Linked DNA regions of Homo sapiens: all the other regions are linked to region 1. Evidence: promoter capture Hi-C in human tissues and cell types (Jung and others, 2019). All regions are on one chromosome and are shown on one strand. The core of a region is centred on a gene start or on the middle of the fragment in contact, and the rest is flanking DNA. Distances in the headings are between cores, read along the strand shown. Region 1 holds the start of CDX2 (caudal type homeobox 2). Region 2 has its middle 16 kb from the start of MTIF3. Region 3 has its middle 80 kb from the start of LNX2.

Region 1 (3,855 bases), core at 591-3,090:
TTTGTAACGGGGTTTGCAATTTGCTTCCGGTTGTATTTCTCAGGAAGTCCGATGACACTCGGCTGTCCAGGCCAGGCGCTGGAAGTCCCCCAGGAGGACCAGCTCGGTCTCCCACCTCTTGAGTGCACAGCTCCTTGGCCCCTGAGTACCCCACCACCCCCATTTCCAGCCTTCTTCCTTACAAACACGAAGGGTGGGAGGAACCAGAAAACAGGGGATCCCGCAGCCCTAGGCTAGTTCTGATCGCTTTCAGGTGTCTGCAGAGGCAAGTTGCTGGTTGTCACCTGTAAAATGGGGAGGATAAAAACACCTCCCAGATTTTGTTCTAGATCCTAGGGGGATGTGAGGCTCAAGGGAGATAAAGGACACTGGAGAGCACCCTAGAAATGACAGGATGAAGGCGATGGTGACAAATATCCGAGCGAAACGCTTGACAATGAGAACAGACAAGTGCAGGTCTCCAGGAGTGCCGCGAGCGCCCGCGGGTTCTGAGAGCGCTCAAAGCCGCCGAGTCAGGCTGCCCAGCCCGCCGGGCCTCGCCGCAGTGATCCTCATTCCCGAATCTGGCAGCGCTGTCAAAGGCTTGTATTAGGAGGTGAACGGCGGCCGCAGGCCCACTCCACGCGGTTGCTGAAACCGAGCTGGGCGCGCGCGGGGGCCGAATCTCGCCGCCTCCGCGCTCCTGTCGGGGCAGCTCCCGATCCCGGGCTGCGCGGCTTCGGTCCCCAAGACGGCCACTTCCAGCCCTAGGCCCCTTGGCCGCAGCGCTTCCCAAACCAAGAGAGATCCTTTCTCAACTCAGAGCTTTTCATTAGCAGTCGTTAATAATGGCCCTGAGTTGCCTTATCATCTCCTGGAAATGAGAAATAAATTTCTTCGGAGAACGTTTCCCTTTGTAAAGGACAGAGAGTTTTAAAGATACAGGTATGATGTAAGACACATAAATACCTAGGTAAGCATTAGCAGAAATTCTCTTTTCCTTATATTTAAGTATAATAAACATACAAGTGTAGCTCAATGAATTTTCACAAACTGACATTCTGTGTAACCAGCAGCCTAAGAAACTGCTTTACCAACGATCCCCTAGCTCGCCTCCAGTTATGCACGCCAATAACCACTAGCCTAACTTCTACCACATGCCCATTACTTCTGTAGTTTAAAACTTCTGATTCTTGAATGTAAACGTTTAACAATAAATCGCTTGAATTTAACTCAAATTTCAAATGTAAGATGAAGTCAGAGATGCAGCCTGAATCTAGGATCATAATTTGTCTTGTGCGGAGGGCGAGTAATTTCCTTGGGCAAGAAAATAACTGGAGGTGACAGTTGTTTGGGGCTGCAGTCGTCCGGGCCAGGAGCACAGGGCGGGAAGGAATGGCCCATCTCTTAGGGCTCTCTGCTTGTCACCTACCAGGTTGGTCAGAAACGTTCTCATCAAAGCAATGGTTCTCTTTTCTTTTCTCTTTGGGACAGAAGGAGTTTCTTGACCGCCCTCTTCCCTGCAAATGCATAAACAACCACTGCTCCTGTCTCCAAGCTCAGATTCCTACCAAGATAGCCTTTTCTCTTCCCCTCTCTTTTGTAAGTCTCTTGATTTCATTCTTTGAACCTGTGATTGGAGGTTAAAGTGCACCAGGTTGGAAGGAGGAAGCTCTTAACAATAAAGGTTTGAATATTTAGCTGTGTCAGGTCGCTGCCCTCTCACGAGCCTCCCTCCCCTTTATCTTTTAAAATGCAAATTATGTTTCGAGGGGTTGTGCGTAGAGTGCGCGCTGCGCCTCGACGTCTCCAACCATTGGTGTCTGTGTCATTACTAATAGAGTCTTGTAAACACTCGTTAATCACGGAAGGCCGCCGGCCTGGGGCTCCGCACGCCAGCCTGTGGCGGGTCTTCCCCGCCTCTGCAGCCTAGTGGGAAGGAGGTGGGAGGAAAGAAGGAAGAAAGGGAGGGAGGGAGGAGGCAGGCCAGAGGGAGGGACCGCCTCGGAGGCAGAAGAGCCGCGAGGAGCCAGCGGAGCACCGCGGGCTGGGGCGCAGCCACCCGCCGCTCCTCGAGTCCCCTCGCCCCTTTCCCTTCGTGCCCCCCGGCAGCCTCCAGCGTCGGTCCCCAGGCAGCATGGTGAGGTCTGCTCCCGGACCCTCGCCACCATGTACGTGAGCTACCTCCTGGACAAGGACGTGAGCATGTACCCTAGCTCCGTGCGCCACTCTGGCGGCCTCAACCTGGCGCCGCAGAACTTCGTCAGCCCCCCGCAGTACCCGGACTACGGCGGTTACCACGTGGCGGCCGCAGCTGCAGCGGCAGCGAACTTGGACAGCGCGCAGTCCCCGGGGCCATCCTGGCCGGCAGCGTATGGCGCCCCACTCCGGGAGGACTGGAATGGCTACGCGCCCGGAGGCGCCGCGGCCGCCGCCAACGCCGTGGCTCACGGCCTCAACGGTGGCTCCCCGGCCGCAGCCATGGGCTACAGCAGCCCCGCAGACTACCATCCGCACCACCACCCGCATCACCACCCGCACCACCCGGCCGCCGCGCCTTCCTGCGCTTCTGGGCTGCTGCAAACGCTCAACCCCGGCCCTCCTGGGCCCGCCGCCACCGCTGCCGCCGAGCAGCTGTCTCCCGGCGGCCAGCGGCGGAACCTGTGCGAGTGGATGCGGAAGCCGGCGCAGCAGTCCCTCGGCAGCCAAGGTAAGCAGAGGCTGCGCCCCTTCGGAGGGTGCTTGGGAAGGCGCGGGTCGAGCCAGTGGCTGCTGCGCGTCGCGCGTCCAGTGCGCACAGGGGCGTCCCGGGCTGTCTGGGAGCTCGGCGCCAGGAGGGGCACGGCCCGGAGACAAATTCGGGGGCCTCTGGCCCGTCGGGGCTTCTCTGACCTACTGAGCCTGGGAGTGAATATTCTGAGTCTCAACACCGTGTTCAGGCGTCCTCTTTCCAAGAGCTCCTCATTCGCAACCCCGGGACACCTTCGGGAAGCTCCGGGGAATGTCGGCGTGAGCACTGCTGGACGCCGGCAGAATCGCGTCCTCCGGCACTTGCTGCGGCATGCATTCCTTGCGTGGCTCCTGGCCGCCGAGGAGAGAGGGAGGCTCGAACCTTCTTGGGCTAGGTCTAGGCCATTTATCTCCGCTCTCTCTTTCCCCATCTGAGCCATCTAAGAAGAGAAGTGACCTGGGGGGGTCGGAGGATGGCTAGGCTGTGTGTGGGACCGGGTTTGGCCACTCGGGCCAATTCAAGGTACAGCGAGCAGGCAGACCAGGGAGAGCTGCTGTCGCTGGGAAGAAGGTGCTAGCCCCAGCTGCTAAGGCGACGGGGGCGCGCCCCGTCTCTGAACCTCTGACCTGTGAAGGGGTCATTTCAAGCAAAAGCTGGAAGGCTAGGGGCAAGAAGCCTAGGGGCAGGCGTCTGCGGAGAGAGCAGGGAGACGGGGAGGAAACCCTGGTGGGAATTAAGCCGCCGCTCCAGGTAGGGGTCATTTCTCCCAAAGCTTCCTTTCAAGGGTGTCAGGGATGTCTGTGAGTGTGTGTGTGCAACTGAAAAAGATCCTAGGTTTGCCGGACTGTGGGGCTCATTGACTCTGGGTCTGCCCCTTCTGGTGTTCGAGTGTGCCTAGAGGTGGCAAGGAAGTGCGGTGGGGAGAGTCCTAGTTGAGTGCCCCTTTTAAAGTCTTTCCCCAGCCCTCAGCGCTTCCGCTTTTCTTGCTTCGCTCCTTGATGCCCCAATTGGGCAGGCACGCTGGTTATGGGCACTTTGCAGAAGTTTATAGCCAATTACAACTGTATAAATCAAAGCGCCCTTTGGGGGCTGTCTCTGGGCATCGGTTTCTGCGTCACTGTGCACATGCTAGGGAGAGTCCTGGT
Region 2 (3,855 bases), core at 481-2,980, 500 kb after region 1:
TATTCTCGAAGTAAAAATAAATATTTAAAATATGTTTTTTTAAATCACTGGTTTCAATTTAGTTGCGCAGGAGGGATTTATTTTAAAAAGTACATCAACATTCCCATGTGTTGATGTATCATAATTTAGTAAACCTGTAATTAATTTTCACTCCATTAGATTATTTGTAAATTTTTTTTAAAATAGTACTACACTGAACACTTTTCATACTATGGTTTTTTGCTTGTTGAATAATTTTTAGGATAATGTTAGAGTAGTACAATTTCTGCTTCCAAGGATATAAATATCTTTTTAGATTTTGGTAAGTACTACCTTTTTGCTTTCCAAAAGAGTAATAGTTTCATCTTCTTAACAGTAGTCTAGTGGGTTATGTTTTGGTTATCTATTATTACATAACAATCTAACTTTATAGCTTAAAGCAACCACTGGCTGGCCAAGGTGGCTCGCACCTGTCATCCCAGTACTTTGGGAGGCCAAGGCAGGAGGATGGCTTGAGGCTAGCCTTTGTAACATAGTGAGACCTCATCTCTATTTTTAAAATAATTTTTAAAAAGCGACCACCATTCCATTAATTCTTATGTTTACAAGGATTGATCAGTGCTCAGCTCGGAAGGTTGATTCTTCTGCTGATTCTTAGGCTGGGCTCACCTGGGGCTGCTTATTCAGCTGCAGGATGAAAGCACTTGGGCATGTCCTGAGTCTCTGGCATGACATCTCCAGGCTCTGACACTGCTTCCAGCCTTCTGGTAAATAAACTGCCAAGGTAGGAATGGGAGGGAGGCAGAGAATTCAGGAGTGCGAGAAGGAAAGATTACCTTTAAGATCAAACCTTTCAGTTTACCTCTGCTCCCCTCCCACCTCACCCCCACCCTGGCTTCGTTCCACGTGAAGGAGGAGAGATGAAAACATCACAGTGCAAAAGTCAGAAGATGGACCTGAAAACCCAAGATAGCCTTATTGCATTTCAGGGGCATGGAAGCCTTTATTTATTTTAAGAACCTTGCTTTAGGATTCCAGATTCCCCTTGAAGCAGTGGGAGTAGAATGCTTCTCTGCAAGTCTTTGTCTGCGTTCATTCTGGTCCCCACATTTGAGTGTGCAATCAATAATTACTACTTTCTTTTTTAAACACGACTTCAGCAAAGCTGGAGTGTCACCAATATAAGAGGCAACTCCGAAACAAAGACTAAAATATATAAATAGCCCCTCTGAAAGCACAGCAAAGGCTGGGCTGTGACCTCCACAGAGGAATCAATATTTCAAATGAGCCTCTGTGCTCTGGGAGCACAATTCTAACCACCCGGCCTGTCTCCACCCTCCTTCTCATCAGCTTCCTCCCCACTTCCCACCTCCACACAAAAGAACAGTGCCAGAAAGCTCAGACATCACCAGATAAGATCTCTGGCAGCACTGCCACACCGTGGCTGTCAGCTGAGACCTTCTGGAAGGAATGTGACCCTCAGCAGAGGACCATGGATGGCATCAGGCCTACATTTAGGAAGTTGGCAATGTCTTCAGAATGTAACTGGAAGAGTTCCAAATGATCAACCTGTCAAAAACCATCTCCCCGGGTGCGGACCTGAAATTTTTCCTGGGTGTAGAATGCAGACAGAAGAGAAGATAAGGGCGAGTTATGGGTGGGAAGACAACATTAAAACGTGGGAGAGGAAAGACAGCCCTTTGTAGGGAGGCAATTTCAGGGGCCATCAAACGTAAACTTCACCTTCCTCTCAGCCTCATCCATCCTGGCCTCCACTGTGGTCCTGCTGAAGGCTTTCTTACAGGTCAGACTCAAGGTGCATGGTTCTTTTGTAGCAGTTCCAACATCACCAGTTTATAGAAACCCTGAACCTGCCCCCGACAGCACTTCATGTAATATTTTATCATAAAGCAATAATAATAATACTAATGTGGTATCTAACATTTAGGAGACATCCCAGCTATATGTTAAAATCACTATCTTCATTTTATAGACAAGTGAGAAACATTTGATAACCTGCCCAAGTAACAGCTAATGAATGTCCCAAGCCCAGTTTTCCCAGATAGCAAAGCCCAAGCTCTTTCCCAGGTTGTCAGGGAGCTCCTGTTCAAGAAACATGCCAACTGGAGGCAGGCCGGGAGGACCCTCAGGCCCGGGAGAGCTGCTCAGCGTCCACCCCTCTAAGAATACCATACGCACATCCTGTTGTTTGAGCTTGTCTGTTTTCCTAGGGAAGAGCAGAAGAAATGGCAGCCACTTGGCAGTGCAAGCAGGTGTCATCTAGGGCATACTGCCAAAACTTGAGCTTTCTTGAAGCAACATTCTAAGAGGAATGTTGTTTACCTCATTTTCCTCCTCATGTGCCTCAGACTCTGGACAGCAGTGATCAGAGTCGGACCATCAGTTTCAGTTGTGGATTATCACCAATACTCAGCAGAGACCTTTAGCAGTCACCCTAACTCAATCATGTTCAACCAAAGCTTTCATTATCCTAACAATGAAAGTCACAGAGCTCTTTTCCCTTTTTATTTTTTTGAGACAGGGTCTTGCTCTGTCACCCAGGCTGAAGTGCAATGGCACCATCATAGCCCACTGCAGCCTCGACCGCCTGTGCTCAAACAATCCTCCTATCTCAGCCTCCCAAAGTGCTGTGGGCTGGGCATTATCCTAATAATGAAAGCTTTGGTTGAACATGATTGAATCTGCTCTATAGATTGAGAATTTTATACCATTTATTACATAGTCTGCTTAAATATAATTTTATACAACAAACTACAGTGATAGGCGTTGTGAGATTCATTATTATATATCTCTTCGGGAAGGCTGGGTGGAAACCCTTTGCGGCCTGGACTCTTCAGTTTTCACATAGAAGTCAAAAATCCTCAGATTAAGTATTTTAGAGAGACCTGAGATCAAGAGATTAATACTCTCTTACATTTGTGTATTCCTTTATAGTTTTCAAAAGAGTTTATCTTTTTGACGGTTGCAATTCTGTGACATTATTATCTTATTTTACGGATGAAAAAGCAAGGGACCAGACCCTCAAAATTACTTGCTCAAGGACCCACGGCAGGTAAAAATATGGAGTTGGGAAATAAATCCAGGTCCTCTGACTCCCACTATGGAGTTCTTTCCTCCACACTAGACACAATTTTGAGAATGAAAGAAATACTGGTATAAATATTCCTTCATGGTAGGTGATTTCCATGATCACCTTTCTAACAGTATTTTTGAGATGTCAAGGAAGTTCTGGGATTATACTCACTAAGAAATACCTAGGTATATATTCAGTTGAATAAGAATATATTATTATTATTACACAGATAACTAGGACACTATTATTTTAGCTACCGTTTATAGAGCAGTAGCTAAGAGCATAGACTCTGGAGACAGATTCCCTAAATCCTGATCCCAGCTCTGCCACCTATTAGTTGGGTGACCTTGGACAAGTTACTTAATCTTTCTGGCCTCAGTTTCCTTACCAATGAAAGGATACATAATAAAAACAATATTACTAAATTATAGATCTTTTAATGAGAACTAAATGAGTCAGTATATGTAAAGTGCTTGGAAAACTGACTGGCACACATGGTAAATCCTGTATGCATTGTGTGTGCAGGGATGTGTAATGTTATTTATTTATTTATTTATTTATTTATTTATTTATTTATTTTTAGTTTTGAGACGGAGTCTCGCTCTGTCGCCCAGGCTGGAGTGCAGTGGCGCGATCTCGGCTTACTGCACGCTCCGCCTCCCGGTTCACGCCATTCTCCTGCCTCAGCCTCCTAAGTAGCTGGGACTACAGGCGCCCGCCACCATGCCCGGCTAATTATTTGTATTTTTTTTAGTAGAGACGGGGTTTCACCGTGTTAGCCA
Region 3 (3,855 bases), core at 823-3,322, 430 kb after region 1:
TGGGGAGCTTTGCTGTTTTAGTTGGTCTGGGCTAGGGCTTGGACATCAATTTTGTTTGGTTTTGTGTGTTCCTCAGGGGGGTTACATGCAGCCATAGTTGAAAACCACTGCTCTAGGAGTTGCATTCCTGCATTTAGAGTAGGTGCATCTTTACGAGGTAATTAATTTCCCAAGAGGTTGCACTAATGTTACATTTCCACTAGTAATTGGGTAAGTTTTGTTGATCCACATTCTTGCCAACATTTGGTGTTCTCAAACCGAAGAGGGTGAAAAGGGCATCCCACTGTGACTTCAATTCCCATCTCCCCATTTACTGGTGAAGTCGAGGAACTTCTCACATATTTACTTGTCTTTCAGGTCCCTTCTTTGGTGACTAACCTGTTGGACAATTTTCTAAAGGGCTATTTGTGTTTCTCTTTTTCATGTGTAGACATTCTTTATTCTGGATGTTAATACTTCGTGGATGATGTGAGGTATAAATATCTTCTCCCAATTTGTGACCTCATTTCAGCTGTAATGATGTGATAAACCAAAGTTCATCATTATAATGTGAACAAGTGTATGAATAGCATATAAGCAGATTCTTTTCTGTTACTTTTGGAATTTGTTATTTTGCCAAGGGTTGTCCATGTATGTTGTGATGATTATTATATGTTTTCTTTCCACCCTATATTAATTTCCTCTGCCTCTCTGTGCTTCATGTTTTCTTCTACCGAATTGTAGCTCTGTTTCTGTTCACTTTGCAGTTACCCTTGAATTTTTCTTCGTGCATATTTAACATAAAGTTTCAACGTGAACAATAGCTCTGTCCCCTCTGCACAATACAAGGACCTGAGACCACGTGACTCCAACCACCCTGAGGTCTGACTTAGTGGCAAGTGTTGTGGCTCCTCCTCATTCTCCTGTCCAGTTAGTGTTATTGTAATTGTTATATACTGTTGGGGTTTGGTTAGATTTCATTTCTGAGCTATGTAAAATACTGAAAGGCTGATGCAAGCACAGTTTATGATAGTTCCTAACATTCCAGTAACATCCCACAAAGGACATGTGGGCAACAGAAGGCCAGAGTGGGATTAATGGCAGCACACTGACCCATACTATCTGAAAGTTGAAGTTGCAATCCAGATATAAGGAAAGACTTTATAAAAGCTTGGGACGCAACAACATTTTCACCATTATATTACCCGTTTCCAAGCAGTCTGGAAATCACTGAAGCAATTTGCCTTTTTATGGGAGGGGTTGGGGGAAGGGCAGTTCAGCAAAGGTCACTATCACCAACTTTTCTAGAGCAAATGCAACTTGCATTGTAAATCCAGAGACATGTTTTCATAGGAAATTTTGGAAGGCAGATTTAGAGGGTTTCGTTTTCTCAAGATACTGTGCACAGTGACCAGTTCTCAAACAGCTGAATCCTCCCTCTCTGTCCTAGCTGTGGCTCTTTTCTCACTAGAAGACCCTGAGGTCTGTTCATTCTGTTGCTGTACCTTCAGAACTTGATACCCATTCTTTTATAAATGAAAGTGGGCTGCTGCTTTATGATTCCTCACATGTTTGAAGCTGTAATCAGATACATGGATGGTTAAAATTAAATCTGAAGTTAACCTGAATTTCAGCTTCTGTGGGCACTTCACCCATTTCATCATGCCTGACACCCATGTTACAGTACATTAATGCCCTGTTAATTCAGACTTAACTAATTTGGAATTTGAAAGCTTAAAGAGAGGTGAGGTTAACTTGGCACTTTATATAAGCAATAAGTATCTTTAATCAACATTGAAAAATGGAAAGTGAGATGTTTCGAGTGCATGCTAAAATATACTGTTTCCAAGTTTCCTTAAGCACTATAAAATACCCAGGCTCATTCGAGTGATGGCTGTGTTGCTTTTCCATGGAATTGTTTAAACAGTTTATCCAGCACCTGCTGTGCACAACACATAGTGAGAGGCTCTGGGTCACTTCCTCACAGCACCTAATTTCATCTTTTACAATGCAGATTTTCTTTCATTTGTCCACCTTGGGTGATCAACAAAACCATATAGATGACACACCAACATGGTAAACTGCTGCCCTGGTAACAGGCTAGGAATTCATGAGTTGAGGTTTTTCTCTTAAGTCTGTCTTGTCTTCTTGCTGAGGGAAAGATTTCAGCTCCCTAAGGTCCTTGTTAGAAAGCTCTTTTGCCATTTTATGGTGTAAATATACTACTAATTAATTTCTATGGCAACACAGAAGCTCTTTAGAAGTGAAGTTGTACATGTAAGCACAGTGCCTAATAGCTATAAAGTGCCTAAGTGAGAAATGCTAAAACTTTAATCACCTACAAGAATAAAAGACTAGGCCGGGCGCGGTGGCTCATGCCTGTAATCCCAGCACTTCGGGAAGCTGAGGTGGGCAGATCACAAGGTCAGGAAATGGAGACCATCCTGGCTAACACAGTGAAACCCCGTCTCTACTGAAAAAGAAAAATACAAAAAATTAGCCGGGCATGGTGGCGGGCGCCTGTAGTCCCAGCTACTCGGGAGGCTGAGGTAGGAGAATGGCATGAACTTGGGAGGCAGAGCTTGCAGTGAGCCGAGATCGCACCACTGCACTCCAGCCTGGGTGACAGTGAGACTCCGCCTCAAAAAAAAAAAAAAAAAAGACTAGCACTTGGAGGACTCACACCATCCCCGCAGGTGGCAGAGAGCATGCCTCCCATCAGGAGAAGGTGGCTTCGCTCCATGGCTGAGTGAGAAGCACTTAGAGATTTCCATTTGAGCTCTATTCACTCACTCACCTGCAAATAACACTTTCAAGATGGGCTATTTCAAAAACTTGGATCAGCATTTGCTTTATTTCTTCAAAAGTTTTCAGTTTAAGGGTGAATTCAACAAGAACTCCCTTCTTTAGATTGCCTGAAAGCTGACCAAGAACGGTTAAGTTAGAGACATCTATTCCCCAGACTCTAAAAGATGAGAAGCAACAACGACTTGTCCAATGTCAAGGTTGTAAGGGTGGCGGCAGCTATTAAAAATAAGGTTTTTTTTGAGATGGGACGAGGTGACTCCAACTGTAATCTTAGCACTTTGGGAGGCTGAAGTGGGGGGATCACTTGTGCTCAAGAGTCCAAGACCAGCCGAGGCAACAGAGGGAGACCCCATCTCTGCAAAAAATAAAAAATTTGCCAGGCGTGATGGTGTGCACCTGTAGTCCCAGCTACTCGGGAGGCTGAGGCGGGAGGATCATTGATCCCAAGAGGTGGAGGCTGCAATGAGCAGTGACTGAGCCACAGCACTCCCGCCTGGGCAACAAAGTGAGACCCTGTCTCAAAAAAATGAAGTTTTTCTTTACTTTACCTAGGTTTAATTGAAAGGTCTCCTTTCACTCACCTCCTCTAGAAATGACCTGAGAATGTCTTAGTTCATGGGATGTGTTTAGTCCCATTCTCCTGACTGCTAGCCTCTCCCACCAGGGAAGCAATACCCCAGAGCCCTTTGTAGATTCACCCCTCTGTGCCTGTTCCTTCCTGCGTGGCTCAGTCCTAAAGAGTTGGAGTCTGGGATCCTTGCCTGGTCTCTTGGCGGCTGTGGGCTAAACTCCTGCTCCTGGAGTCCTGGCCTGTGCTGAGATAGATGGGCACCTGTGGAGGATGGGGGGTGCTCACAGCAACAAAACTCCCTCTGTGGATACTTAGTAAATGTTTGAGGAAAGGCAGTCCTTGTCACCTGTCATATGTAAGTCATTCCAAAGGATATGATGTCCTTGTGTCATCCAGGTCCCCAGTCTAGAGCTACTTTTTCCCCCTGCTGATCCCAAGTCATGGAACCTTAGAAAGGGAAGCTCTTGTCCATTTTTCTGGTATACAGGTCCCCGCTG

What was found. The method cuts DNA at HindIII sites, captures the fragments that hold promoters and counts their contacts. A contact is called where the count stands out against the background at its distance.
Region 2: a fragment that was not itself captured here is called in contact with the fragment with the promoter of CDX2 in region 1 in 2 of the 25 tissues and cell types used here (IMR-90 fibroblasts and heart right ventricle).
Region 3: a contact is called between a fragment that was not itself captured here and the fragment with the promoter of CDX2 in region 1, in 1 of the 25 tissues and cell types used here (spleen).

Annotation. Positions count from the first base shown.
Region 1 is chr13:27,967,300-27,971,154 of GRCh38, reverse strand. CDX2 (caudal type homeobox 2) reads left to right here and starts at 1,840. Exons shown (of 3, transcript NM_001265.6): 1 at 1,840-2,689. The coding sequence starts at 2,149. RefSeq lists an enhancer at 1,914-2,605. The HindIII fragment of the contact is 6,465 bases long and covers 1-3,855 here.
Region 2 is chr13:27,464,222-27,468,076 of GRCh38, reverse strand. No RefSeq gene overlaps it. Among named protein-coding and RNA genes, the nearest start is that of MTIF3, 16 kb to the right of the region's middle. The HindIII fragment of the contact is 4,528 bases long and covers 1-3,855 here.
Region 3 is chr13:27,538,742-27,542,596 of GRCh38, reverse strand. No RefSeq gene overlaps it. Among named protein-coding and RNA genes, the nearest start is that of LNX2, 80 kb to the left of the region's middle. The HindIII fragment of the contact is 4,687 bases long and covers 1-3,855 here.